Linked DNA regions of Homo sapiens: regions 2, 3, 4, 5, 6 and 7 are each linked to region 1. Evidence: promoter capture Hi-C in human tissues and cell types (Jung and others, 2019). All regions are on one chromosome and are shown on one strand. The core of a region is centred on a gene start or on the middle of the fragment in contact, and the rest is flanking DNA. Distances in the headings are between cores, read along the strand shown.

Region 1 (3,643 bases), core at 531-3,030:
GAATGAGACTGTCTCAAAAAATAAAATAAACCAAAAAATACAAAAATTAGCCGGGCATGGTGGCGTGCACCATGGCAGAGGTTGCAGTGAGCCAAGATCATGTCACTGTACTCCAGACTGGGTGACAAGAGACCCTGTTTCAAAAAAAAAAAAAAAAAAGGCATGATGTATTGTATGCTTAATTCACTATAAACTGCTCTTTTAAAGGACATTACTAAGTTGGTGTTTTTATCTTTTAAATTTTTTTTTTTTTTTTTTTTTTGCAGAGACGGAGTCTCACTATGTTGCCCAGGCTGGTCTCAAATTCCTGGGCTTAAACGATCCTATTGCCTCAGCTTCCCAAAGTGCTGGACTTACAGGTGTGACCCACTGTACCTGGCAACTTGGTATTTTTATTTGAATTGATCTTGATGTCTCACACACCTAGCAACTACAATCTGTCATTTTCCCTTAATTCTAAAGAGAATGTAGATTCAAAGATACAGATACCATCTGGATCTTGATGTATTTTCACCAATATGTAAATCAATGGATAACCTTAGAGTTGTGACGCTTCTAGAAAATGCCCCCTCTGCCACAAGAATAAATGGGTTCACGAATCAGCCTCACATTAAGGTGAAGGCTGGACTTCTGGCGGTGGGGAGTGAGTTGCTCTATTACATTTTTGTTAAAGCAGAAAAGGACAGACACAAAAAGCTCTGGGAGAATCAGCCCTGGTTTTATTTTTGGTTGTTTTTTATTTTGTTTTGTTTTTGCCTCCTTGCCCAAGAAAGCCCATCTCCAGCCTCTTCCTAGACATGTTCTAACCAGGCTTCTACGGCCCCTTACGGACTCTCTATGGGCCCTGGGTCAGAAGCTGGGGCTCCTCTCTCCACACTTGCCGACAGTCACTTCCTCCTCTACAGTGTTCCATCCTGTGACCCCACTCTCTCCATTTCTTATTGACAAGAGTTCAAAAAACTGGCGTGGCATTCAGGACTCTCAAAACTGACACTTCCCAACGCATCCAATCTCAACTCCTCCCACAAGATCGCACCACACTGGCCCTCTCTACCCCACAGAGCAGCCTCCCCTTTGGGAATCCAGCTCCCCAAAGCCTGGGGTTTTCCATGGCCAGGAGGCTCCGATCGAGCCAAGCAAGTAAGGGAGTCGCCAGGCAGAGAACAATGACTGCTCCAAACACCCTTGGGAGATGGGATGGATAGATGGATGGGATGCCCAGGAGGTTAGGAACGCGTTGCTCACCTGGGGCGCGGCGGTCGGAGGCCTCGGGGCCATTCCTGCCTCGCCAGGGCCCGGCTCCGGGGCAGGAGCTGGGGAGAAAGGACAGGGCCCACTCACCCCGCTGCAACACCGACCCCACCCCGCCCCGCCCCGCCCCACCTCCGCCCCTAAACCACATCTCCAGGGGAGATGGTGGCGAGGACCGTGGAACCAGCCCGGGCCTGCCGCTCCCCATCCCCGAAATGAAAGGCTCAGCGGCCTCCCGGACACCCCCCTCCGGCCACGCCCAGTCCCCTTCGCAGGGTGGTGGGCGAGGCCCGGCTGACACCCGCCAAACCCAGGAGGGGTCCCGCCCAGACCCGCGCACTCAGAATCACCGCCTCTGGGGGGCTCCGGATTTCGCGACCTCCGGCCCACCCAGAGCCTCGGGCAGCTCCTCCCGCCCCCGCCGAAGCCTCGGTTATCTCCAATTCTGATCTGCGGAGGGGCTGCCCAAAGGGGCCTCAGCCGCACCGGGGTCGGACAATGGCCGCAGCGGTGGGGCAGAACTGGAAGTGCGCCTGCGCACTCGGAGCCTCGCTCCTGCAACCCCGGGTCCACGCCGGGCGCGCGAACTACACTTCCCAGAGGCCCGCGCGCGCAGGCCCCGCCTAGGCGGCTTCCGAAGGCGCGTTAGGGACCCTTGCGAGGGCCGAGGGAGGCGGCCAGTGTGGCTCGAGTGTGCGTGTCCCTGTATTCCAGTCACTGTCCGCCTCCTCTTTGCAAGGGGCTTGTTGCTAGCTGGGGAATCGGCCGGGAAAGACCCTGGTTTCGGGGAGCAATCGTACGCCCCTTTCGACGAGGCTGACGATAAAAACGCAAACATGTCAACAAGATAATGTCAGGTCCTGACTTCAGCGGTAAGAGTGACACAGGAAGGGAGTGAGACAGCGTCAGAGGGTGGGGCATTTACATCTTCTTCAAAAGGCAATTTTCCATTTCTCATTTTAGAGAAAAAAGAAACTTCGGACAAATCCGTGGCCTCCTGAGCAATGTGCAAAGGCAGATCTACTGCCGTGTTATTTCATTACTTCGTATCCCCTTACGCAGGATTTTGTTTGGGACAAGCAAACAATGATGGAAATTTTCTTTTTTTTTTTTGAGACACAGTTTCGCTCTTGTTGCCTAGGTTGGAGTGCAATGGCGCGATTTTGGCTCACCGCAGCCTCCGCCTCCTGGGTTCAAGCGATTCTCCCGCCTCAGCCTCCCGAGTAGCTGGGATTACAGGCATGCGATGCGTCACCAGGCCCGTCTAATTTTGTATATTTAGTAGAGACAGGTTTTCTCCATGTTGGTCATGCTGGTCTCGAACTCGCCTCGGCCTCCCAAAGTGCTGGGATTACAGGCATGGGCAACCGCGCCCGGCCCGATGGAAATTTTCAACACAAAGATAGGTCAACTTTTAGATACAGCTATTACGTTTATGTAATTATGTCTTATATATCACAGACATTCAGGCTACATTTCCTAGATTTCAGCTTGATTTCTTAACATTAGAGCATTGCATACCAACATGGTAGAAAATGACTGCAACGAAATGTTCCTGATGTCACACTGCTTTATCAAAAATATGAACATTCAAAAATAAATGCTTTATGCCGGGTGCGGTGGCTCAAGCCTGTGATCCCAGCACTTTGGGAGGCTGAGGCTGGCGGATCACCTGAGGTCAGGAGTTCGAGACCAGCCTGACCAACATGGAGATAGCTCGTCTCTACTAAAAATACAAAATTAGCCAGGCTTGGTGGCGCATGCCTGTAATCCCAGCTACTCAGAAAGCTGAGGCAGGAGAATCGCTTGAATCTGGGAGGCAGAGGTTGTGGTGAGCCGAGATTGCACCATTGCACTCCAACCTGGGCAACAACAGCAAAACTCCATCTCAAAAAAAACAAAACAAAAAAGGGAGAAAATTTCCATCACTGTTGGCTTGTCCCAAACACAAAATCCTGCGCAAGGGGCTAACAAGTAATGAAATAACACGTCAATAGCACAGGGAGGCTGAGGAGGGAGGAGCCCAGGAATTAAAAGACCAGCTTGGGCAACATGGCAAAACCCTGTCTCTACAAAAAATACAAACATTAACTGGTTGCAATAGTGTGCGCCTGTGGTCCCAGCTACTTGGGAGGCTGAGGTGGGAAGATCGTTTGAACCCGGGAAGCAGAGGTTGTGGTGGGCTGTGATTTCACCACAGCACTCCGACCTGGGCGACAAAGCGAGACTGTCTCAAAAAATATATATAAAAATTAATGAATGCTTTCTATCACTGCTTTGTGAATATAGTGGTCTGGAATTAGCAGAATGCATAATTCACAAGTATGAATTAGAGTGGACCGGGAGGCCTCTCTGAGGCAAGTGACTTAGTAGCTGCAACTTAAGGCAACTG
Region 2 (3,797 bases), core at 561-3,060, 480 kb before region 1:
GAGTCACTTTCAGTTTAGTCATTAGGAAAATGAGATTTAGGAGACTGGGGAAGGAAGAAAAGGCACACATTCATGAGCCCTGGAGTGGGAGGCTGTTGTGGTTAAAGGAAGAAGGTTCCTTGTCAGGAAGGAAGGCACATAAAAAATGAAGGAAGTTTGGAATCTACAAGCAGGGGAAATTGCAGGTTGAAAAGGGTAAGAACACAGGAGAAACATTTTAATGTTTACTAATATAGTGGCTTATAGTTAAAAATAAATGATAAAGAAAAGGCATATTAACTTATCAAATAATGATTAAGTGTGTACTATGTGTCTGCCACTGTGCTGGGCCCTGGGGGACTAATCATAAGCAAGAAAGATACAGTCCTTACCCTCATGGCAAAACCTAATGGGGAAGAGGAAAAATACTGACCAAGCAATAACAATGGAGTGAGATGTGCCAAAATGGTGACAGAGAGGGACTTTTATGAGTAATGTTTGATCTGGTTTCTATTCTATTAACAACAGCTCCAGTATTATCTTATTTGCTCAGACTCTAAAGTGTGTTCATTTTTTTTTCACTACTCCCTGTTACCCTTCAATTAGTTCACTTATTATTCAGTCTTCGTTTACTTCCACACAGGATCTGAAGCAACTTACAATAAATAACGTTGAAACCATGTGTCATTAAAATAAACATTTTAGGCTGGGTATGGTGGCTTACACCTGTAATCCCAGCACTTTGGGAGGCTGAGGTGGGCGAATCACCTGAGGTCAGGAGTTTGAGACCATCCTGGCCAACATGGTGAAACCCATCTCTACTAAAAATACAAAAAATTTAGCCAGGTGTGGTGGTGCCTGCCTGTGGTCCCAGCTACTCAGGAGGCTGAGGCAGAAGAATAGCTTTAACCCAGGAGGCGGAGGTTGCAGTGAGCTGAGATCGCACCATTGCACTCCAGCCTGGGTAGAGACTCCATCTCAAAATAATAATAATAAATAAAATAAAATACATAAAATAAATATTTTAAAACCTCTACAGTAAGTGAGAGAAGTGCAGACATCCCAAGCTAAGAATGGCTACTGCAAATAAACCAAGAGTTTAGTAGTTTAATTTTACAATTCTTGGTAGCTAAGGCAAAAAAGGAATTAGAAAACACAGCTCTCATTATCCAATAAAAGAAGGAACATCATGAAGAGAGAGAAACTTCAGGAAGGACACTAAGAGGTATCTCATTCATTCATCCGGCAAATCTTTTTTTTTTTTTTGAGATGGAGTTTCGCTCTTGTTGCCCAGGCTGGAATGCAACAGCGCAATCTCGGCTCACCGCAACCTCCCTCTCCCAGGTTCAAGTAATTCTCCTGCCTCAGCCTCCCAAGTAGCTGGGATTACAGGCATGTGCCACCACGCCTGGCTAATTGATCCAGCAAATCTTAATTGAGTGCCCACAGTACTCCAATGTGCCAATGTTCTCAGTACTGAGGACAATATGGCATGAACAAGAAATCAAAGCTCCCATCTTCATGAAGCCTACTTCTAGCGGGGAAGAAAGACAATAAATAATAAAATTTCCAGCAGCAATGAAGGCTATGAAAAAAAATAAGGAGCGGGGGAGTTGACAATGTGGGTGAGGGCTCAGGGAAGAGCTCTCAGAGGAGAAGACCTCAAGGAACAAGGCATGTGAGGGCCTGGTGGAAAAGTGAAGAAGAGAGTGGGCAATAGAAGCTTTATATTCAATGCAGGAATCATACGGCTGTTTCTTATACTGACTGGCCATATAAGTCAAGAGCATATCACTATATTAACAAAACTGCAACTTAACGTTCCATTTATGTAAATTCCTGCCCTAACTGAGCTCCAGCACTCCTTTGAAAATGAGCATCCATTGGCCAGGTGCGGTGGCTCATGCCTGTAATCCCAGCACTTTGGGAAGCAGAGGGGGCGGATCATGAGGTCAGGAGATCGAGACCATCCTGGCTAACATGGCGAAACCCGGTCTCTATTAAAAATACAAAAAATTATCTGGGCGTGGTGGCGGGCGCCTGTAGTCCCAGCTACTCGGGAAGCTGAGGCAGGAGAATGGCGTGAACCCAGGAGGTGGAGCTTACAGTTAGCCGAGATCATGCCACAGCACTCCAGCCTGGGCGACAGAGCAAGACTCTGTTTAAAATAAATAAATAAATAAATAAATAAATAAATAAAATAAAATGAGCATCTGTTAAACTACATGCTCCATCAACCCATCCCAGCTACATCTGAGAACCCAAGAAGCCAGTGGGAGTGTCAGCATCTCAGACCCTGCATTGTACCTGGTCAGCTGGCTCTGGGCTCACTTGCTACCTTGTTTTCCAAGTGTTGGACTGGAAGAACTGGAACACTCACTGCATCCACTCTGCATTTCTCAAAGGGCCCCTGCCTCCACGTTCTCCGAGACTGGACCTCTCTTAGGCCTCACATACATAGCCTAGATCTGTCACATACTTGGCTCAAACCTGGTCTTCTTTGGGGATTTATGACCTTGCCTTCATTTCTTGGGGCTCTGCTACCCTCTGACTAATCTTCCCTCCCTTCTGATCTTGTGATAGAGGTCTCAGGACTGTATTGTACCCTAGTCTCCAGGTGGGAGTTGGCTTGAACTGGTTTCTATGGAGAACAAAATGAATGCACATAGTCAAAGAATCTTCCAGGGCTGCAATTTGGCATAGGCATTGAATTTTAAGATCCTACATAAGAGGTTCTTTGTCTTTTCTTTTTCTTTTTTTTTTTTTTTTGAGACAAGGTCTTGTTCTGTCACCCAGGCTAGAGTGCAGTGGTGCAATCATAACTCACTGCAGAATCAAACTCCTGGGCTCAAGAGATCCTCTTGCTTTAGCCTCCTGAGTAGGGTGGGACTATAGATGCACACCACCATGCCCAGCTGGTTACAATTTTTTTTACAGAGATTGGGCCTTGCTATGTTGCCCAGGCTGGTCTCGAACTCCTGGGCTCAAGTGATCCTCCTGCCTTAGACTCCCAAAGTGCTGAGATTATAAGTGTGAGCCACTGTGCCCAGCCCAGGGGTTAATTTGAGCTTTAGGGATTCCTCTATGTCAAATTTTGTATACATCTCACTGGCATTTTCCCAATTTTCCTTACAAACAGTACATTAATTTTGTTCAAGTATCCACCTGTCGCCATCCCTCCCCATGTGATTCAGGCTACAGTTTCCATTGGTCTAAGTGAATCGTGGTGGACATCTCCCTTTGCTTTAATTGGTTTAGGCATGGGCATGTGACCCAGTTCTGGACAAGGAGTTGTGAAGGAAAGTCTGCTAGAAGACTCTCAGAAAACTTTTTGCCTTTGGCTATCATAAGGATATATGAATTAGGGTTGCCTTAGAGTTGCTGCAACCAACTTGAAACCATGAGGAACTAAAGGATAAGGCCCATAAGCTGTGGTTGACAGAGAAAGATGAAAAGAATATGGGTCTTCAATGATGTCACTGAGCTAGAGAATTAGCAATCCTGGAATTTTTGTTATGTGTGATAATTCATTCTTTGTTAAGCCACTTGAGTTGGGAATTTCTGTTACTTGCAGCCAAAAGCATCCTGATATATGAAAACTGGAATGCTCTTCATATATAAAGTTGTAGAATACCTCAATGTCAATCCTATGTCTATCAATATGAAACATCAAAAAAGTTAGATTTGTCAAAACTAAGGAACTTGGGGGCCAGGCACGGTGGCTCACGTCTGTAATCCTAGCACTTGGGGAGGCCAAGGCAGGCAGATTGCCTGAGCTCAGGAGTTCAAGAGCAGCCTGGCCAACACAGCGAAACTCT
Region 3 (2,551 bases), core at 52-2,551, 270 kb before region 1:
TGGTAATAAAGAAAAGAAAGGGAATGATTACCACAAAAGTCAGGGTGTGGTTATCTTTTTTTTTTTTTTTTTTTTTGAGACGGAGTTTTGCTCCTGTTGCCCAGGCTGGAATGCAATGGCGTGATTCGGCTCACCACAATCTCTGTCTCCCGGGTTCAAGCAATTCTCCTGCTTCAGCCTCCCAAGTATCTGGAATTATAGGCATGCGTCGCCACGCCCAGCTAATTTTCTATTTTTAGTAGAGACAGGGTTTCTCCATGTTGGTCAGGCTGGTCTCAAACTCCTGACCTCAAGTGATTTGCCCACCTTGGCCTCCCAAAGTGCTGGGGTTACAGGTGTGAACCACCACACCCAGCCTAGGGTGTGGTTATCTTTATGGAGGAGAGAAAAGAATGTGACCAAGGGGGATTGTTTAGGGCTTTAAGGTACTGGTAAAGATCTGTTCCTTAATTAGGAAGGTTGTTCTTAGCCAGGTATAGTAGCTCATGCCTATAATCTTAGCAGCTTGTGGGGCTGAGGTGGGAGGATTGCTTGGGCCCGGGAGTTTGAAAGTAGCCTGGACAACAAAGCAAGACCCTGTCTCTGAAAAAAAAATTTTTTTTTTTTTGAGACGGAGTCTGGATCTGTCACCCAGGCTGGAGTGCAGTGGCGTGATCTCAGCTTACTGCAACCCCCGCCTCCCGGGTTCAAGCAATTCTCCTGCCTCAGCCTCCCAAGTAGCTGGGATTACAGGCCCCCGCCACCACGACCGGCTAATTTTTTTGTATTTTTAATAGAGACGAGGTTTCACCATGTTGGTCAGGCTGGTCTTGAACTCCTGAGCACAGGTGACCCATCCACCTTGGCCTCCCAAAGTGCTGGGATTACAGGCATGAGCCACCATGCCCAGCCTAAAAAAAAAAAAAATTAATAATAAAAAAGGGAAGATTGTTCTTAAACTCTCCCTATTTTATATGTTTCCACAGGTAGACTGTTACACACATGCATATAACACAACAATGGCTTGCCAAGAAGTTCTGTCCGTAGGAAGGATCAGCTTTAGTTACACAACCTTTGGGCTTGGACAACACTTTGGGGTCCAAAGAACCTAAGAGTCTTTCTGAGTATTCAGATTCTCATTAGTGGATATACCTGGAAGAGCACCTTCCATGACAGACCCCTTAAAGACCTCCTGGGTGAATTCGGGCTTGTTGTCATTCTGATCGGTTACCGTGATCAAAATCTCCATTGGATCCTCAACTGCATTCCCGTTGGATGACACAGCGTGAGAGAAGAGCTGAAAGAACCAAGTGAGGGTGACTTGAGCTCTGATGAGGAAGAAAACATGGGAGAAGGGGCCCAGCCAGAGCAGAGTGCGCCCCCCTGGCTGCCACACCTTCCTAGGCTCTGAGACCCCCAGTGGGTGACTTTTCTCACACATGTGCTGCTGCTGCTTCAGTGAGATTATAACAAGGTAAGAGCCATGGGCTGGAGAACACCCCCCACGGCTCAGACCTCCCATTTCCCACACGAGGACCAGGGCATCAGGCCTAGAGATGAAGATGCGGGCCTGAAAAACTCTTATTCCATGCCGGGTGAAACTTGCTCTGGTCCTTTTAGTCTAGCATTTCCCCCAGATATTTCTGAATTTGGCATCAATATATGACTTCCTGGCCAGGCATAGTGGTTCATGTAATCTCAGCACTTTGGGAGGCCGAGGTGGGCAGATTGCTTGAGCTCAAGATTTCAAGACCAGCCTGGGCAACATAGCAAGATCTTGTTTCTACAAAAAATACAAAAATTAACTGGGTGTGGTGGCCTGCGCCTTTAGTCTCAGCTACTCAGGAAGATGGGGTGGGAGTGTCGCTTGGGCCCAGAAGGTCCAGGCTGCAGTGAGCTAAGATTGTACCACTGCATTCCAGCTTGAGTGACACAGGTAGACTCGGTCTCAAAAAAACAAAAATCCAAAACAAAAACAAATGACCTCTTGTAGGCCGGGTGCAGTGGCTCCCTCCTGTAATCCCAGCACTTTGGGAGGCCAAGTAGGGTGAATCGCCTGAGGTCAGGAGTTTGAGACCACTCTGGCCAACATGGTAAAACCTCATCTCTAATAAAAACGCAAAAAATTAGCTGGGCATGATGGCAGCTGCCTATAATCCAGCTACTCGGGAGGTTGAAGCAGGAGAATCACTTGAACCCGGGAAGTGGAGGTTGTGGTTCCAGCCTGGGTGACAGAGTGAAACCCTATCTCAAAAAAAAAAAAAAAAGACCTCTTGGTTTTCCTAAGCTCTTGCTGCTGCCAAGCCCAAGAAATGGGTTTTGCTCCCTTATATCATCACTGTCCTGTTCCTTTAGGTCAGGGACTTCCAGCCCCAAGAACAGGTTGACATCTTGGGTCTAAATTTGTCCTGGTTGTATGAGGATGCATGCGGATTCTCCTTCCTTTCTTCCTGACAAGGAGAAAAATTAACAACCCCAAACTGTCCCACGTTCTCCCATCACTTCTCCTTAGCAACAGGTCAAGAGGTGTCAAGTTAAGCTCCTCATGTGTTCAGAGCCTCTGATCTGCGGA
Region 4 (3,567 bases), core at 26-2,525, 290 kb before region 1:
TGGACACAATTCACAGGTTAGAGCCATTCAGCTAAACTCTGCCTAAATCTGCTGAGCCCCAGCCATCCTACAGATTCTCATGAGCTTAGATGAGACCAGCAGTTGCTCCAGCTACCCCACGGTACATGAGAAAGATACGCATGTTGTGTGCCGCTGAGATTCCACGATTGGTTGCTCTATTGCTCACTGATACAATATACGTGGTATCCCCAAACTAGACTTACAAGTCCCTGAAATCTAGAACAATATTTTTCTCTGTACACCCACCTCCCTATGTTGTATGGAGCTCAGTAAATTGTGCCTCACTCTGTGGCCTCAGTCAAAAACAGGACTCTGTAATAGACCCCCATGGATCCCTTTCTATAATAAGTAGGCTCTCCAAGACACTGAACAGTTCCCTGGACAACTCCAGGGTAAGATGTTAAGATCATCTCCAAAATCAGGAAATACAGAGGGACTGAAGGTATAACCATGACAGAAAAGGAGTTTGGTCTAGCTAAAAACTCAAAAGAAACAAAGCAGACCAGTTGTTCTATGTCAAAGAGAATCTGGCTGAAGTTCACGTCCAGAGAATGGCAATGAGGAAGGCAGGCTCTGAGACAGACCATTTAGCCCTGTCGCTTCCTAGCTGTGTGACCTTAGCCAAGTTACTGAGCTTCTCTGTGCCTCAGCTCGCTCACTGAGGTGCAGAACAGTATGCGATCAATAAATGTTAGCTGTGTTGGTGATGATGTGATGATGATGATGGTCAATGACAATGTCTACTTTCTTGGGTAAGGCCTTAAAAAGATAATATCCAAAGTGATTCAGAGCTGTTTCAAATGCCTACCTCTTACTAATCATTGCTTCTTCCGAATAAAGAGATCACCACTGAGCTACCAAGGTTTTCAAAACCCACCTGGTCCTCTTCTCCGCCTCCTTCTTCATCATAGTAATAAACGTTGTCCCGGGTGTCATCCTCTGGGGGCAGTAAGGGCTCTTTGACCACCGCTCTCCTCCGAAGAAACAGCAAGAGCAGCAGAATCAGAACTGGGATGGTGGGGGAGACAGAGCAAGTGTTGAGAGCCAAAGATAAAGAAGGCCAGAAGCAGCAGCTATCACAGAGCACCCCTCATACCAGACAGGGGGCAGTTAGACAGCCACTAGCTGCCTTCAATACACTTGAAGATGTCAATCCACGTGACACTCACATCCCTGAAGTCGGTATGTACAGTACAACATAGTAGACAGTGATATGTGAACTCAAGCATGGTCCTTAACTTTCAGATGGGTTTTAAACTCAATCACTGTCATTTTCCCAAATCTGGGGGAAAGTGTTCCAGGCAGAGGAAACAGTAAGGACAGAGGTCCTGAGGCAGGAGGAGCATGTTTGGTGTGATGGAGGGAAGGTGAGGAGGCCAGCATGGCTGTAGCAGGGTGCATGAGGGGAAGAGACATGGAGAAGAGCTCAGAGGGGCAAGCAGGGCGGGAGGGACATATGGGCCACTGTGAGGACTTTGGCTTTGATTCTGAGTTGGAGCCATTGAAGGTTTGTGAGCAGGGCTCCTAGGTTAGCCCAAATGTGATTGATACATAACCAGCTATGGGGAGTGGGACAGAGACTATAAAATTGCCTGGTATGTTCTTATTTTCTCTTAAGATAGAATCATGTAAGCAAGCTTTAAAATCTATTTAACTTCCAAGGCTTAACACAAGGGTTACATTTGATCTTGGGATTATTTCTAGGATATACACAATTAACATTTAACTTTAAAAAAAAAATCTCTAAAGCAGCCAGAAAGAAACCACTTAACTTAGAAAATACATATATTATTCACTGTGAATGAAAAAAAAAAAGATTCCATGTGTTTTCTATCCATGGGTGCCCAAGTACCTATATACTGTACCCTATGAAGCATAATCTTTATTTATTTATTTATTTATTATTATTTTGAGACAGAGTCTCACTCTGTTGCCCAGGCTGGAGTGTAGTGGCGCAATCTCAGCTCACTGAAACCACCACATCCTGGGTTCAAGTGATTCTCCTGCCTCAGCCTCCCAAGTAGGTAGGACTACAAGCACCTGCCACCATGCCCAGCTAATTTTTGTATTTTTAGTAGAGACAGGGTTTCACTATGTTGCCCAGGCTGGTCTCAAACTCCTGACCTCAAGTGATCCACCCACCTGGGCCTCCCAAAGTGCTGAGATTACAGGCGTGAGCCACCACGCCCGGCCGAAGCATAATCTTTAAACAGGAGGTTGCATAAACTTGGGGAAAAGATTTCTCAGATGTACCTCAACTACCTATTTCTAAAACCAGAAAAATGCCAGAAACCTTATCCAGATAAACAGCATAACTCCCTTGTCCATGATTCATCAACAAGAACACTGAATTGGCTGCACAGGGAGACAGCACTGAACAAGACTATAGGAGCTACACAGTCCCCATCCATGCAAAGCAAGAGGCAGTTTACCGTTTCCAAAATGACCCCTCTTATCAGCTGTGCCAGAAGCCCAGTATCCGCAGGCTCTGAGAAAAAGCCTGGCACAGAGTAAGCAATCAAACATTGGCGGAAAACATGAAAAGCTTCAGATCTCCTGGTGTCTCTCTAGTAATTTTTTTTAATAGAGATGGGATCTTGCTATGTTGCCTAGGCTGATCTTGAAACCTAGGTTCAAGCAATCCTGCCACCTCAGCCTCCCAAAGTGTTGAGATTATAGATGTGAGCCACCGTGCCCAGCCTCTAGCACATTTGTGCCCTTAAGAAACAAGAAATTGGCCGGAGGAGTGGCTCACACCTGTAATCCCAGCACTTTGGGAGGCCAAGGTGGGAGGATCACTTGAGCTCAAGAGTTTGAGACCAATGTGAGTAACATAGTGAGAACCCATCTCTAATAAAGAAAGAAAAAATAATCATAGAAGTTAAAAATACAAGAAATTGAAATTGAACATCTGAACTCTGGCATTGCCTCTGTTTTAAATGTTGCTCTACATGGGAATCCCCACCCCCAGTGTCTAAAAAAATACATACCCATAGCAAATTTAGGTAATCCTATTTAAAAAAAAAATATTTCAAGTATAACTACAATCTTTAAGATTCCCTGGCTGGGCACAGTGGCTCATGCCTATAATCCCAACACTTTGGAAGGCCAAGGTGGGAGGACTGGTTGAGACCAGGAGTTTGAGACCAGCCTGGGCAACATAAGGAAACACTGTTTCTACAAAAAAATATTAAAAAATTAGCTGGGTGTGGTGGCTCATGCCTGTGGTCCCAGCCACCCAGGGGTCTGAGGTGGGAGGATTGCCTGAGCCCCGGAAGTCAAGGCTGCAGTGACCTGAGATCTGAGATCACTCCACTGCACTCCAGCCGGGCCCACAGAATGAGAACTTGCCTAAAAAAAAAAAAAAAAAAAAAAAAAGATTCCCTTTAGAATGAATGTACTGGTCAGTAACCACTATACCAAAAGCAGACCAGGCCACTGAAATGTAATTTGACTAGGAAGTGGGCAGGCAGGGCTTGTGTTACCCTGCCCAAGGCAATGATGAATTAACCTAATCTCATGGCACAATAAAGCCATGTAAAGCCT
Region 5 (3,910 bases), core at 655-3,154, 450 kb before region 1:
TCTTGGCTCACTGCAACCTACGCCTTCCGGATTCAAGCGATTCTCCTGCCTCAGCCTCCAGAGTAGTTGGGACTACAGGCGCGAGCCACCACGCCCAGCTAATTTTTGTATTTCTAGTAGAGACGGGGTTTCACTATATTGGTCAAACTGGTCTTGAACTCCTGACCTCAGGTGGTCCACCTGCCTTGGCCTCCTAAAGTGCTGGGATTACAGGTGTGAGCCACCGTGCCCGGCCAGATTTCTGCTTTTTTAACATAGAATACAAAGCTTGATTTGAGAGGGAAAAAGGACATAAGAATGACTTGGAAAGATGAGTAATTTCCAAAGAATCTCTGTTGAAAAGCAAACAAGGAACGGCTGTCACAGAAACAAATACATGTACTTGGATTTTTCTCTGGAGTAGAACAGGATGATCGCACATTTTACTCAACTGAAGGGCTACTTACTAGGGTTGGCTTTTGCCTTGGCATAATGCAGCAATATGAGGTATTCATTCAAAAATAACAACAAAAAAATAGCAACCAACATTTATTCACCCCTTACCATGAAAGACACTGGTTCTGAACACTTAACATAAATTATCTTATTTAATTTCATTACCATCCTATCAGATATTTAATAGAATTATCCCCACTTTACAGATAAGGAACAAAGAAGTTATATAACTTGTCCATGCTACTAAAGGTTAGAGTCGAGATCAAAACCCAGTTAGTTATGACTCCAGGGTCACAGATAGCACTTCTGTTAAAGAAAACTAAAATGCATTCAAAGTTAAGTCCATATGTCGAATTCTTATTTACCTGCCCAGTGGCTGCCACTGTAGATGGTCCCACCTCCCCACTTTGATATCTGGCAACCCTACTAGAAGACTAAATATAGTGATAAATAGATCTCTGTGATGATACTCATATATTTATAAGCGATTTCATATATATTACTTTATTTGAGCCTCTCAATAGTTCTGTGAGAATAGTTGCTGGGTGGATTATAACCCCGTTTTCACTAAATGTTTAAAAAAAAAAGGATGATGGTCTCTCATTTATTCCTCTGAATTGCCTATAGTATTCACATTTTCTCACCATTTTCACAGCCATTCCTCTAACCAAAATCCTCATCTCTTTGTGTCAAGGAATACCACAACCACCTCCCAGCTTTCTCTCCGGCTCCAGGCTCTCCTTTCTTTTGTATTTTTATTTTGCGAGACAGTCTTGCTCTGTCACCCGGGCTGGAGTGCAGTGGCACGATCTTGGCTCACTGCAACCTCTGCCTCCCTTTAATCGGGTTCAAGTGATTCTTCTGCCTCAGCCTCCCGAGTAGCTGGGATTACAGATGCATGCCACTATGCCCATCTAATTTTTGTATTTTTATTTATTTATTTATCGATGAAATCTCACTCTGTCGCCTAGGCTGGAGAGTACAGTGGTGCGATCTTGGCTCACTGCAACCTCTCCCTCCTAGGTTTAAGCAATCCTCCCACCTCAGCCTCCTGAGTAGTTAGGATTACAGGAGTGCACCACCACACCTGGCTAATTTTTCCTTTTCTATTTTTAGTAGCTTTTTCTATTTTTAGTAGAGGCAGGGTTTCACCATGTTGGCCAGGCTGGTCTTGAACTCCTGACCTCAAGTGATCCACCCACCTCAGCCTCCCTAAGTGCTGGTATTACAGGCATGAGCCATCATGCCCAGCCCAGGCTCTCCTTTCTTCAGCATCCTTCATGTCCCTGCCAACCACATACCTATACATTTATCATCATGCTGTTTCCTTTAAGAATCTACAGTGATTCCCAAATGGCCATCATGGCAAGTCTAGACTCCTCTGCTCAGCTCTCAGAGCTGTCTGTGGTATGGCTCTACCCTGTCTATCTAGCCTTTCTTCTCCAAGGTACCCAACACAGCCTCAACAGAGGGACAGGTTAAGTCTCAGTTCTTCATTCTCACCATATACATCCCACTTCTGTTTTGTTCTTATGCTTTCTTTCCTATCTGGGGACATCTTTTTTCTGTCTTTATCACGTGTAAGCCTTTGTTCGAGATCTACCATCATCTCTTGCCCCAACAACATCCTAATAGGTCTCTCTGCTTCAAGTCTTGTCCCATTCTAAGTCATCCTTCACAGAGTGACCGAAGTAATTTTGCCAGAATATAATTATTATTACTTCTTTCCTCCTTAAAGTCTTTCAATGGCTCCCATTTTATAAAATCAACATAAACTCCAAATCCATTAACACAGCATATGTATCCTTTCATGATCTTGACTCCCTGAGCTAAGCCAGGCCATGGAACCTAGTCTGAGTTCAATGATGAATGAGAATGGTAGCCAGGCATGGTGGCTCATGCCTATAATCTCAGCACTTTGGGAAGCTGAGGTGGGAGGATCACTTGAGTCCAGGGGTTTGAGATCAGCCTGGGCAACATAGTGAGACCCTGTCTCTACGAAATATACAAACAAATTAGCCAGGTAATATGGTTTGGCTGTGTCCCCAACCAAATCTCATCTTGAGTTGTAGCTCCCATAATTCCCAATTGTTGTGGGATGGAGCTGGTGGGAGATAACTGAATCATGGGGGCGGTTTCCCCCATACTGTTCTCGTGGTAATAAGTAAGTCTCATGAGATCTGATAAAGGGAAACCCCTGTCGCTTGGTTCTCATTCTCTCTTTACCTGCCACCATGTGGCAAGATGTGGCTTTGCTCCTCCTTGCCTTCTGCCATAATTGTGAGGCCTCCCCAGCAATGTGGAACTGTCAGTCCATTAAACCTCTTTTTCTTTATAAATTACCCAGTCTCGGGTATGTCTTTATTAGCAGCGGGAGAACAGACTAATACGCCAGGTGTAATGGTGCATGCCTGTGATCTCAGCTACTCAAGAGGCTGAGGTGGGAGGATCACTTGAGCCAGGAGTTTGAGGCTGCATTGAGCTGTGATCGCACCACTGCACTCCAGCCTGAGTGACAGAGCAAGAGTCACACACACACAGAGCGAGAAAGAGAGAAAAAGAGAGAGAATAAGATTTCATCTCTTTTAATTTTATGTACTCCAAAGCAGAAAACAAGCAGGACGAAGATCATGAATAAGATAAAGATTCAGGTGGGTGAATACAGTCCCCTATTTTATCTCTTGGATCTCAGAAAAATGTGCTAAAATTCACCATGCATAGAGTAGACTCAAAGCAGCAGCTAAGGCTAAAAGAACTGAACTGAGATTTGAGCTGCTGCCCACCACAGGCATGACAAAGTTTGCCATTTCAGCCTACGTTAATTGCCTGTTGAAACAAAAATTTAACACTGTTCAGGGTATTATATCAGAAACCACAGTTTCTGCAACATAATATTCATAATGTCTAGTACAGAATCCAAAACTTCTAATTATGTGAAAATATAAACCATTTTCAAGGAAAAAGACAATCAACAGTGGCCAACACTGAAATGACCCAGATATTTTAGTTATCAGATAAGGATTTTAAAGCAGCTATTATAACTATGCTTAATGAAATAAAGGAAAATACACTTCTAATGAACAAAAAGAGAGGAAATCTCAACAAAAAAAGAGAAAGGGACCAACTACAAATTCTAGAAATGCAAAATACAATATCGAAAATAAAATATTCACTGGATGAGTTAAACAGTGAAATGGCAATGACAGAGGAAAGAGTCCATGTACCTAAAGATAGATCAGTTGAAACTATTAAATCTGAAAAAGAGAGAGAAAAAGATTGAAAAAAAAAAATTGAACAGAGCCTGTTCTTGTAGAACAAGAACAAGAACAAAAAAATCTAATATATGTGTAAAGTCCTAGAATGAAAATTTAAAAATTAAACAGAAGTAGAGCTATTAAGCCAAAAATGGAGATTAAGAATCATGGGCTGGGCGTGGTAGCTCATGCCTGTAATCCTAGCACTTTGGGAGGCCAAG
Region 6 (3,677 bases), core at 153-2,652, 500 kb before region 1:
AATGCTTTCTGAGCATCGGAATTTTAATATGGTCTTACGGATATCATCTAAATATAAGAACAGTCTTCAGTTCAGGTCAAGCACCCATAACCAGCTTGTAATGCTGCTCTCCAGCAGACCAATGGGACAGACCCCTTGTCCAACACTAGAAGTGGGGAGGATGTAGGCCACTCTCTTCTATGTATCCAGGCTGGAAAAGTCACTTCACGGCTAGTCTCTCACCTCCAACCCCAACGACATAATGAACACTGAGTTCTACCTCTAAAAGCCTTGGTGAGATAGATAGATGATGAACTGGTGTATTATTTCTATACTCTAAGTCCTCTCAGAGGGCAGAAATCCATTCTTTTTTTTTTTTTTTTTTTTGAGGCAGAGTCTTGCTCTGTAGCTCAGGCTGGAGTACAGTGGCATGCTCGCAGCTTACCGCAACCTTTGCCTCCCGGGTTCAAGTGATTCTTGTCTCAGCCTCCTGAGTAGCTACATGTGCCTGTCACCACACCTGGTTAATTTTTGTATTTTTAGTAGAGATAGGGTTTTGCCATGTTGGCCAGGCTGGTCTCAAACTCCTGACCTCAAATGATTGCCCACCTTGGCCTCCTAAAGTGCTGGGATTATAGGCGTGAGCCACTGGGCCCAGCCAGAAATTCATCCTTTTGTCACCTGCTCTGAGTAAACCACACTATGGAAAGCTTTCTCTTCACTGGCTAAATCAGTAAACTGTGTCCACTTCTAAAAGCCATCCAGAGAGAAAGATGCTGATTGCTTTGGAAGCATTAAAGGTCAGTTTCAGCAATTTAACACTTAACAGGAGCCAAGAGAAATAAGGAAAAACATCACTCCCAAAACAGCTGGCACACACCAAGCATAACCAGAACTATATAAATAAAGATAATACAAATGGCAAGATTACCAAAAACTGACTTTGGAAAATTCCAAGTGAGAAGTTGCCAGAATTGAGGTATGTATCAAGGAAGCATGACTTTAATTTTCCAACTGCATCTTCATCCATTTTCCTAAAGCTTCCTTTATTAAAATTCAGTTGGTTTGCTAACTTGTCTGCAACTTCACCATCTGTAAACCAAGAAACCTTAACAGCAAAGACAATGTGACCAATCATTCTCAGGAGCTTGGCTTACTCAACCTGCCATGAAAGAAACCATGGCAGGTACTTTAGCTTCCTTGGGGTTTCCCAGAACATCTATCTCAGGCCTCATCTCAGGGGTCTACGTATCCTCAAACTGCACTGATTGTGGCAAAACTGATAGTAAATTCAGGTCATTCCGTGGGATCAGAGGCAGTGGCTTTGTATCAGCCCCCAAAGCTCAGGTATGTGGAATTCTGGGCACCATGTTAAAAGGAGACTGGACTTGTCACCTGGGACACATCTTATTTGCTGTAGTGAGGACAGGCCTCTCACTGTGGTTCACTTAAATCATATTTACTTCTCATAGAGAGTGATAAAGATGAAGAATCTATCAAGATTTGGTTTTAAGCGACACAGCCTTTGACAAGAACAAGGAAAAATTGAAAAAAAAAAAAAAGAAAAAAAAAAGAATGTTATCTACAGGTTAATTCTTGACATCAACAGAGAGGAAAAGCCTGAATTCCCAGTACAGTGACTGTGGAAGGGTTGAGCCTATACTTTATATTCCTTCCCGACCAGCTGGCATCATCATAGCAGACAGTGCCCAAATCTGGATCACCCAATAGTTAGGATAACTTTCTTCAGATGCCGAAGAGCTATAGCCAGAGAGGAAGGGCACTGATGCCCGCAGACCACGTCGCTTTAGAAGGGACTACGGTGGCTGGTTTGTTCAATTTCATTTTCTTCTGCTTATTATTTTTAACAGGTGTAATTCACTATTATTCTTGTATGAAAGCTTATGCTGTAACCACAGCTGGAGCCTGGGTCCTCTGCATGGAGGCTCTGGTGTGGGTCTTGATGTGATGGTCAGTGCATTCCACAGGGAGGCTTGGTGAATAGTCTCTTTCCAGAGGCTGGGGGTCAGGCAGCTATAGGTCCTGGAGATGGCATTGAAGGTGGCCTTGGTGAAGTTGTCCAGGGTGGCAGTGCAGCCCCTGGCTGAGGTGTAGCAGTTGTCAATACCGGCCATCAGCAGCAGCATCTTGGGCACAGGAGTCGAGATGATGCCATTGTTCCTGGGGGCAGGGATAAGGTGTACTAGCCCAGAGCTACAGCAGCCTGTAACCATACAGGGGGTGGTGTAGGACTTGCCGATCTTGTTCCCCCAGTAACCTCTCCGCATAGGGACAATGGAAAGCTTGGCCAGGGTGATGGTCCCTTGGATGGCAGTAGTAACCTCCTTGGAGCACTTAACACTTAAACTGATGTGGCCATCATAGTCCCTAACAGTAACAAATGCCTTGAATCTGGTGCGGTGGCCAGTGTGGGTCTGTTTCTACACAAGCATAATCTTTAAAACCTCACCCATGAGAGATGCCCCTTGAAAAAAGCTAATGATATCACACTCCTCGATGGGCAGGGAGAAGAGATAGGTCTCCAGGGACTTGATCTTCATATCCTTGACCAGAGGGACCAGCTTGGTGATGGGTATCCACTCCTTGTCCTCAGTCATGTCTCTGTGAGTTCCACAGCCTCAGCTCTAGCCTTGACCATGGCTGCGAGCCCAGTCCTGCATGCTGCTACCAAAGCCTCTGAGGAAGCCATGGCAGTTTTCCATTTAGGGTCCCCAGGGCCTCCAGGACCTCCCGCCACATTGGCGTTATCCTCCAGTTTGGTGATTTCTCAGAAAGGAAGCTGTTCAATTTTATCTCAAAATAGATTATGCTTCTTCTCTTCCTCTGCCTGGCTAACACTTGATCAACATAACCTTCTTGATGCCCTGACAAGTTAACCCAGGGTCCCAGCTCTGGGTCCCCCAGAGCTTGGTGCTGGCTCTATCGTGTCACTCCTATCCACTGTTGATTTACTCCTCTGCGTTTCACACAAGTTACTGAGACTTCCTTAAGGGAAGAGATTGGGTCCTTTATTTGTGTCTTCTAGCATACTTGCCAGATAACAGATGCTCACGAAGGAGAATTCCTTCTGTTCGCAAAGACAAGTTTCCCAAAGCTCAAGTTCCTTCTCCACCAGCACACCCTGGAACTAAGCAATTCTGAGACTTCAAGAGCTTTCATGGTACACTGAAAGAACTGTCCTAGAAGAAGCCACAGTAACTTTTTATTTTATTTACTTATTTTTGAGACAGAGTCTCTCTCTGTTGCCCAGGCTGGAGTACAGTGGTGTGATCTCAGCTCACTGCAACCTCCGCCTCCTGGGTTCAAGTGATTCTCCTACCTCAGCCTCCCGAGTAGCTGGGATTACAGGTGCCTGCCACCACACGGGGCTAATTTTTGTATTTTTAGTGGAGATGGGGTTTCACCATGTTGACCAGGCTGGTCTCGAACTCCTGACCTTGGGTGATCTGCCTGCCTTGGCCTTCCAAAGTGGTGAGATTACAGGCATGAGCCACCACGCCTGCCAACAGTAACTTTCTTTTTTTTTTTTTTTTGAGATGGAGTCTTGTTCTGTTGCCCAGGCTGGAGTACAGTGGTGTGATCTTGGCCCACTGCAACCTCAGCCTCCGGGTTCAAGCAGTTCTCTGCCTCAGCCTCCCCAGTAGTGGGGATTACAGGCGCCTGCCACCATGCCCAAC
Region 7 (3,569 bases), core at 980-3,479, 410 kb before region 1:
TTGGAAGTAAACACAGAAATAAATCTTCATTATCTTGGGCTAGGCAACAATTTGTTAGAAATGATATCAAAAGTGCAAGCAATGAAAGAGAAATTAGGTGGGGTACAGTGGCTTACACCTGTAATCTCAGCATTTTGGGAGGCTGATACAGGCAGATTACTTGACCCCAGGAGTTTCAGACCAGCCTGGGCAACATGGCAAAATCTTGTCTCTACAAGAAATACAAAAATTAGCTGGGCATGGTGGTGTGCACCTGTAGTCCTGGCTACTTGCTACTTGGGAGGCTGAGGTGGGAGGCCAAGGCTGTAGTAAGCCTGGGGATATCAAGGCCACAGTGAGCCAAGATCGCACCACTACACACCAACTTGGGTGAGAGTAAGACCCTGTCTTAAAAGAAAAGAAAAGGCCGGGCGCGGTGGCTCACGCCTGTAATCCCCCCACTTTGGGAGGCCGAGGTGGGCGGATCACGAGGTCAAGAGATCAAGACCATCCTGGCTAACACAGTGAAACCCTGTCTCTACTTAAAAAATACAAAAAAATTAGCCGGGCATTGTGGTGGGAGCCTGTAGTCCCAGCTACTCGGGAGGCTGAGGCAGGAGAATGGCGTGAACCCGGGAGGCGGAGCTTGCAGTGAGCCGAGATCGTGCCACTGCACTCCAGCCTGGGCGACAAAGCAAGACTCAGTGTCAAAAAAAAAAAAAGAAGAAGAAGAAGAAACAGAAATTAGACTTCATTGAAAGTAAAAACTTCTGTGTTTCAAATGACACCATTATGTAAGAGAAAAGACAATCCACAGGATGGCAGAAAATATCTGCAAATCATGCATCTGATAAAGGACTTTTCTCCAGAATGTATAAAGAACTGTTATAACTCAATGATAGGAAGGAAAAAAAAAATTAAAAATGGGCAAAGAGGCTGGGCGCAGTGGCTCACGCCTATAATCCTAGCATTTTGGGAGGCCAAGGCGGGGGATCATCTGAGGTCAGGAGTTCGAGACCAGCCTGGCCAACATGGCTAAACCCTGTCTCTACTAAAAATACAAAAATTAACTGGGTGTGGTGATAGGCATCTGTAATCGCAGCTACTCAGGAGGCTGGGGCAGGAGAATCACTTGAACCTGGGAGGTGGAGGTTGCAGTGAGCCAAGATCATGCCACTGCACTCCAGCCTGGGCAGCAGAGTGAGACTCCATCTCAAAAAAAAAAAAGGCAAAGAATCTGAATAGACACTTCTCTAATGAAGATTTACAAATGGGCAATGAACTCATAAAAAGATCTTCAACATCACTAGTCATGAGTGAAGTGCAAATCAAATCACAATGAGATACCCCTTCACACCCATTAGGGTGGCTATGTGAAAGCTGATCAAACAAATTTGGTCATTTTTGTCATACCCACCTAAGAGTTGAGAGGCCAGGGAAACAAAGCACGCAGTGCACATAATATTGCCCCAAAAGTATAATTCCCTACAAGCCCAGCTGCTGAAACTCCCTATTGTGACCTAAAACCAAGAAATTAAAAAAAAATAAAATAAAAAAGAAATTTAAAAAAGTAACCTAAAACCAGTTTTATCTTAGCTACTGAAACAAACTTGCTGCAACTCTAAGACTAGTTTTACCCACCACTGTCACTCCTCAGAGCTTGTCAGCTGCTCAGAACTTTACAGTGCCAATGAACTTTCTTTCTGGAACAGTATGTAACATTTCTCCTTTTTATAAAATCTCCAAACTTCTTCCTCTTCTTCTTCTTTTTTGTTTTTGAGACAGAGTCTCGCCCTGTCACCCAGGCTGGAGTGCAGTGGCCTGATCTCAGCTCACTGCAACCTCTACCTCCTGGGTTCAAGTGATTCTCCTGCCTCCAGAGTAGCTGGGATTACAGGTGTGCACAACCACACCTGGCTAATTTTTGTATTTTTAGTAGACATGGGTTTTCACCATGTTGGCCAGGCTGGTCTCGAACTCCTGACCTCAAGTGATCTGCCTGCCTCAGGCGTGAGCCACCGTGCCCGGCCAAACCTCTAAACTTATCTTTGTTCTTCAGACATATGGAAGACCACCCTGTCTGTGTATGCCCTGAATTGCAATTCTTGCTTCTGCAAAATGTTTTAAATTTAGAGATTTGTCCTTATATTTTATTTGATTTTGACATATGTGGTGTCAGAAGTGGGATTCCAAACCTGACTCACCTTGGGAAAAATCATCGGCCCTTGGAACTATGACATAAGGTACTCACATTGAGGGCCTTTGAGCACCCTCTCTCCCACGAGTCAGCTAGGTGTTCCCTGGTGAGTCTCCTGGATGGCACTCCTGCTTTGGGTAAAGTTCTGTTTTGTTTGGGATTTGCTTAGAGAAGGGTCTTTCCTCCTCTTATTTGGAGGGGGGTCTCTCTCTGGTTGGGAGATCATCTGTTGGGGAGGACTCTTTTCCTCCTGGCAGACCTCAGCTGTGAGGTCTGAGTGAAGAGATATTTTTCCTCCAGGTTGAGGCCTGGGTGAAAGAATTTTTCCTTTTCCCTTCAGTTGGGAAAGGCAGCTGATCGTCCTCTTGGTAAGTACATACTTTATTTTCCATCAGCACTTGTGTTTATTTGGCTTTTGCATATTCAACACTTGCATTTAATTGGCTTTTGTATATTCAACATTAAACTGAGTCACCTAGATAAGTTTAATTACAAATGGGCTCTCAAAGTTCAAAGACATGCCAAGATATATTTTGAGATTCCAGCTGGTAACATGTTCAAACATTACAGGGATCATGCAGTCTGTTGTTCTTAAAACTAAACTAAAAGACCATGGCAATAAAATCATACATTCCAAATAAGACTCATATCTCAAGGGATATCTTTAGGCTAAAAAAACCAAACCCAACCCGGACTCAAAGACTGACTAGCTATAAAATACTATCTCAAAGTTGGTTGAGACTCTCCTCTTTGGAGCTTGCCCCTCCCCTTCTTAGAATTCCTTCTTACTCTCTTGCTCTAAGCTAACTCTCTTTTTCCAAAACTCCTCAGCTAGGCTGGCATGCTGACAATTTAAGTAAAAAACACGTAAAAACTAGCAGATATTTTAAAAAATATTATTTTGACCTTCGTGCTGTTTCTTAAAAGCAAAAAATAAAATTCTCATATAAAAGACCCCCTTTCCATACTAAAAGGAATGAGGAGATTCTTATCTTAAAGGGCAAAAAATTGAGACCAAGACAATACTTTACAGACACTGTTAAAAAAAAAATATCTTGGCCGGGTGCGGTGGCTCACGCCTGTAATCCCAGCACTTTGGGAGGCCAAGGAGGGCAGATCACGAGGTAAGGAGATTGAGACCATCCTGGCTGACATGGTGAAACCCCATCTCTACTAAAAAACACAAAAAATTAGCCAGTGCGTGGTGGCAGGCACCTGTAGTCCCAGCTACTCGGGAGGCTGAGGCAGGAGAATGGTGTGAACCCAGGAGGCGGAGCTTGCAGGGAGCCAAGACTGCGCCACTGCACTCCAGCCTGGGTGACAGAGCGAGACTCTGTCTCAAAAAAAAAAAAAAAAAATTCTCAGATTCAGGTTGCAGTGAGCTTTAATCATG

Evidence for each region. Contacts are between HindIII fragments. The study calls those that stand out against the background at their distance.
Region 2: a contact is called between a fragment that was not itself captured here and the fragment with the promoter of ZFP90 in region 1, in 3 of the 25 tissues and cell types used here (liver, lymphoblastoid cells and spleen).
Region 3: a fragment that was not itself captured here is called in contact with the fragment with the promoter of ZFP90 in region 1 in 4 of the 25 tissues and cell types used here (hippocampus, lymphoblastoid cells, mesendoderm cells and 1 more).
Region 4: a fragment that was not itself captured here is called in contact with the fragment with the promoter of ZFP90 in region 1 in 7 of the 25 tissues and cell types used here (H1 embryonic stem cells, bladder, dorsolateral prefrontal cortex and 4 more).
Region 5: a fragment that was not itself captured here is called in contact with the fragment with the promoter of ZFP90 in region 1 in 3 of the 25 tissues and cell types used here (lymphoblastoid cells, mesenchymal stem cells and small bowel).
Region 6: a fragment that was not itself captured here is called in contact with the fragment with the promoter of ZFP90 in region 1 in 6 of the 25 tissues and cell types used here (IMR-90 fibroblasts, aorta, dorsolateral prefrontal cortex and 3 more).
Region 7: a fragment that was not itself captured here is called in contact with the fragment with the promoter of ZFP90 in region 1 in 4 of the 25 tissues and cell types used here (IMR-90 fibroblasts, aorta, dorsolateral prefrontal cortex and 1 more).

Annotation. Positions count from the first base shown.
Region 1 is chr16:68,537,428-68,541,070 of GRCh38, reverse strand. ZFP90 (ZFP90 zinc finger protein) reads right to left here and starts at 1,780. Exons shown (of 5, transcript NM_001305203.2): 1 at 1,592-1,780; 2 at 1,246-1,313. The coding sequence starts at 1,278. The HindIII fragment of the contact is 20,432 bases long and covers 1-3,643 here.
Region 2 is chr16:69,013,847-69,017,643 of GRCh38, reverse strand. All of the region lies in intron 15 of TANGO6 (transport and golgi organization 6 homolog), which reads right to left. Among named protein-coding and RNA genes, the nearest start is that of HAS3, 90 kb to the left of the region's middle. The HindIII fragment of the contact is 8,154 bases long and covers 1-3,797 here.
Region 3 is chr16:68,808,922-68,811,472 of GRCh38, reverse strand. It overlaps CDH1 (cadherin 1), which reads right to left. Exons shown (of 16, transcript NM_004360.5): 6 at 1,132-1,276. Among named protein-coding and RNA genes, the nearest start is that of TANGO6, 33 kb to the left of the region's middle. The HindIII fragment of the contact is 3,618 bases long and covers 1-2,551 here.
Region 4 is chr16:68,825,636-68,829,202 of GRCh38, reverse strand. CDH1 (cadherin 1) reads right to left here. Exons shown (of 16, transcript NM_004360.5): 14 at 899-1,029. Among named protein-coding and RNA genes, the nearest start is that of TANGO6, 16 kb to the left of the region's middle. The HindIII fragment of the contact is 4,654 bases long and covers 1-3,567 here.
Region 5 is chr16:68,989,112-68,993,021 of GRCh38, reverse strand. The region is part of intron 15 of TANGO6 (transport and golgi organization 6 homolog); the gene reads right to left. Among named protein-coding and RNA genes, the nearest start is that of HAS3, 110 kb to the left of the region's middle. RefSeq lists an enhancer at 3,579-3,910. The HindIII fragment of the contact is 4,563 bases long and covers 1-3,910 here.
Region 6 is chr16:69,032,732-69,036,408 of GRCh38, reverse strand. All of the region lies in intron 16 of TANGO6 (transport and golgi organization 6 homolog), which reads right to left. It also overlaps the pseudogene RPS2P45. Among named protein-coding and RNA genes, the nearest start is that of HAS3, 71 kb to the left of the region's middle. The HindIII fragment of the contact is 4,241 bases long and covers 1-3,522 here.
Region 7 is chr16:68,943,329-68,946,897 of GRCh38, reverse strand. All of the region lies in intron 14 of TANGO6 (transport and golgi organization 6 homolog), which reads right to left. Among named protein-coding and RNA genes, the nearest start is that of TANGO6, 100 kb to the right of the region's middle. The HindIII fragment of the contact is 7,830 bases long and covers 1-3,569 here.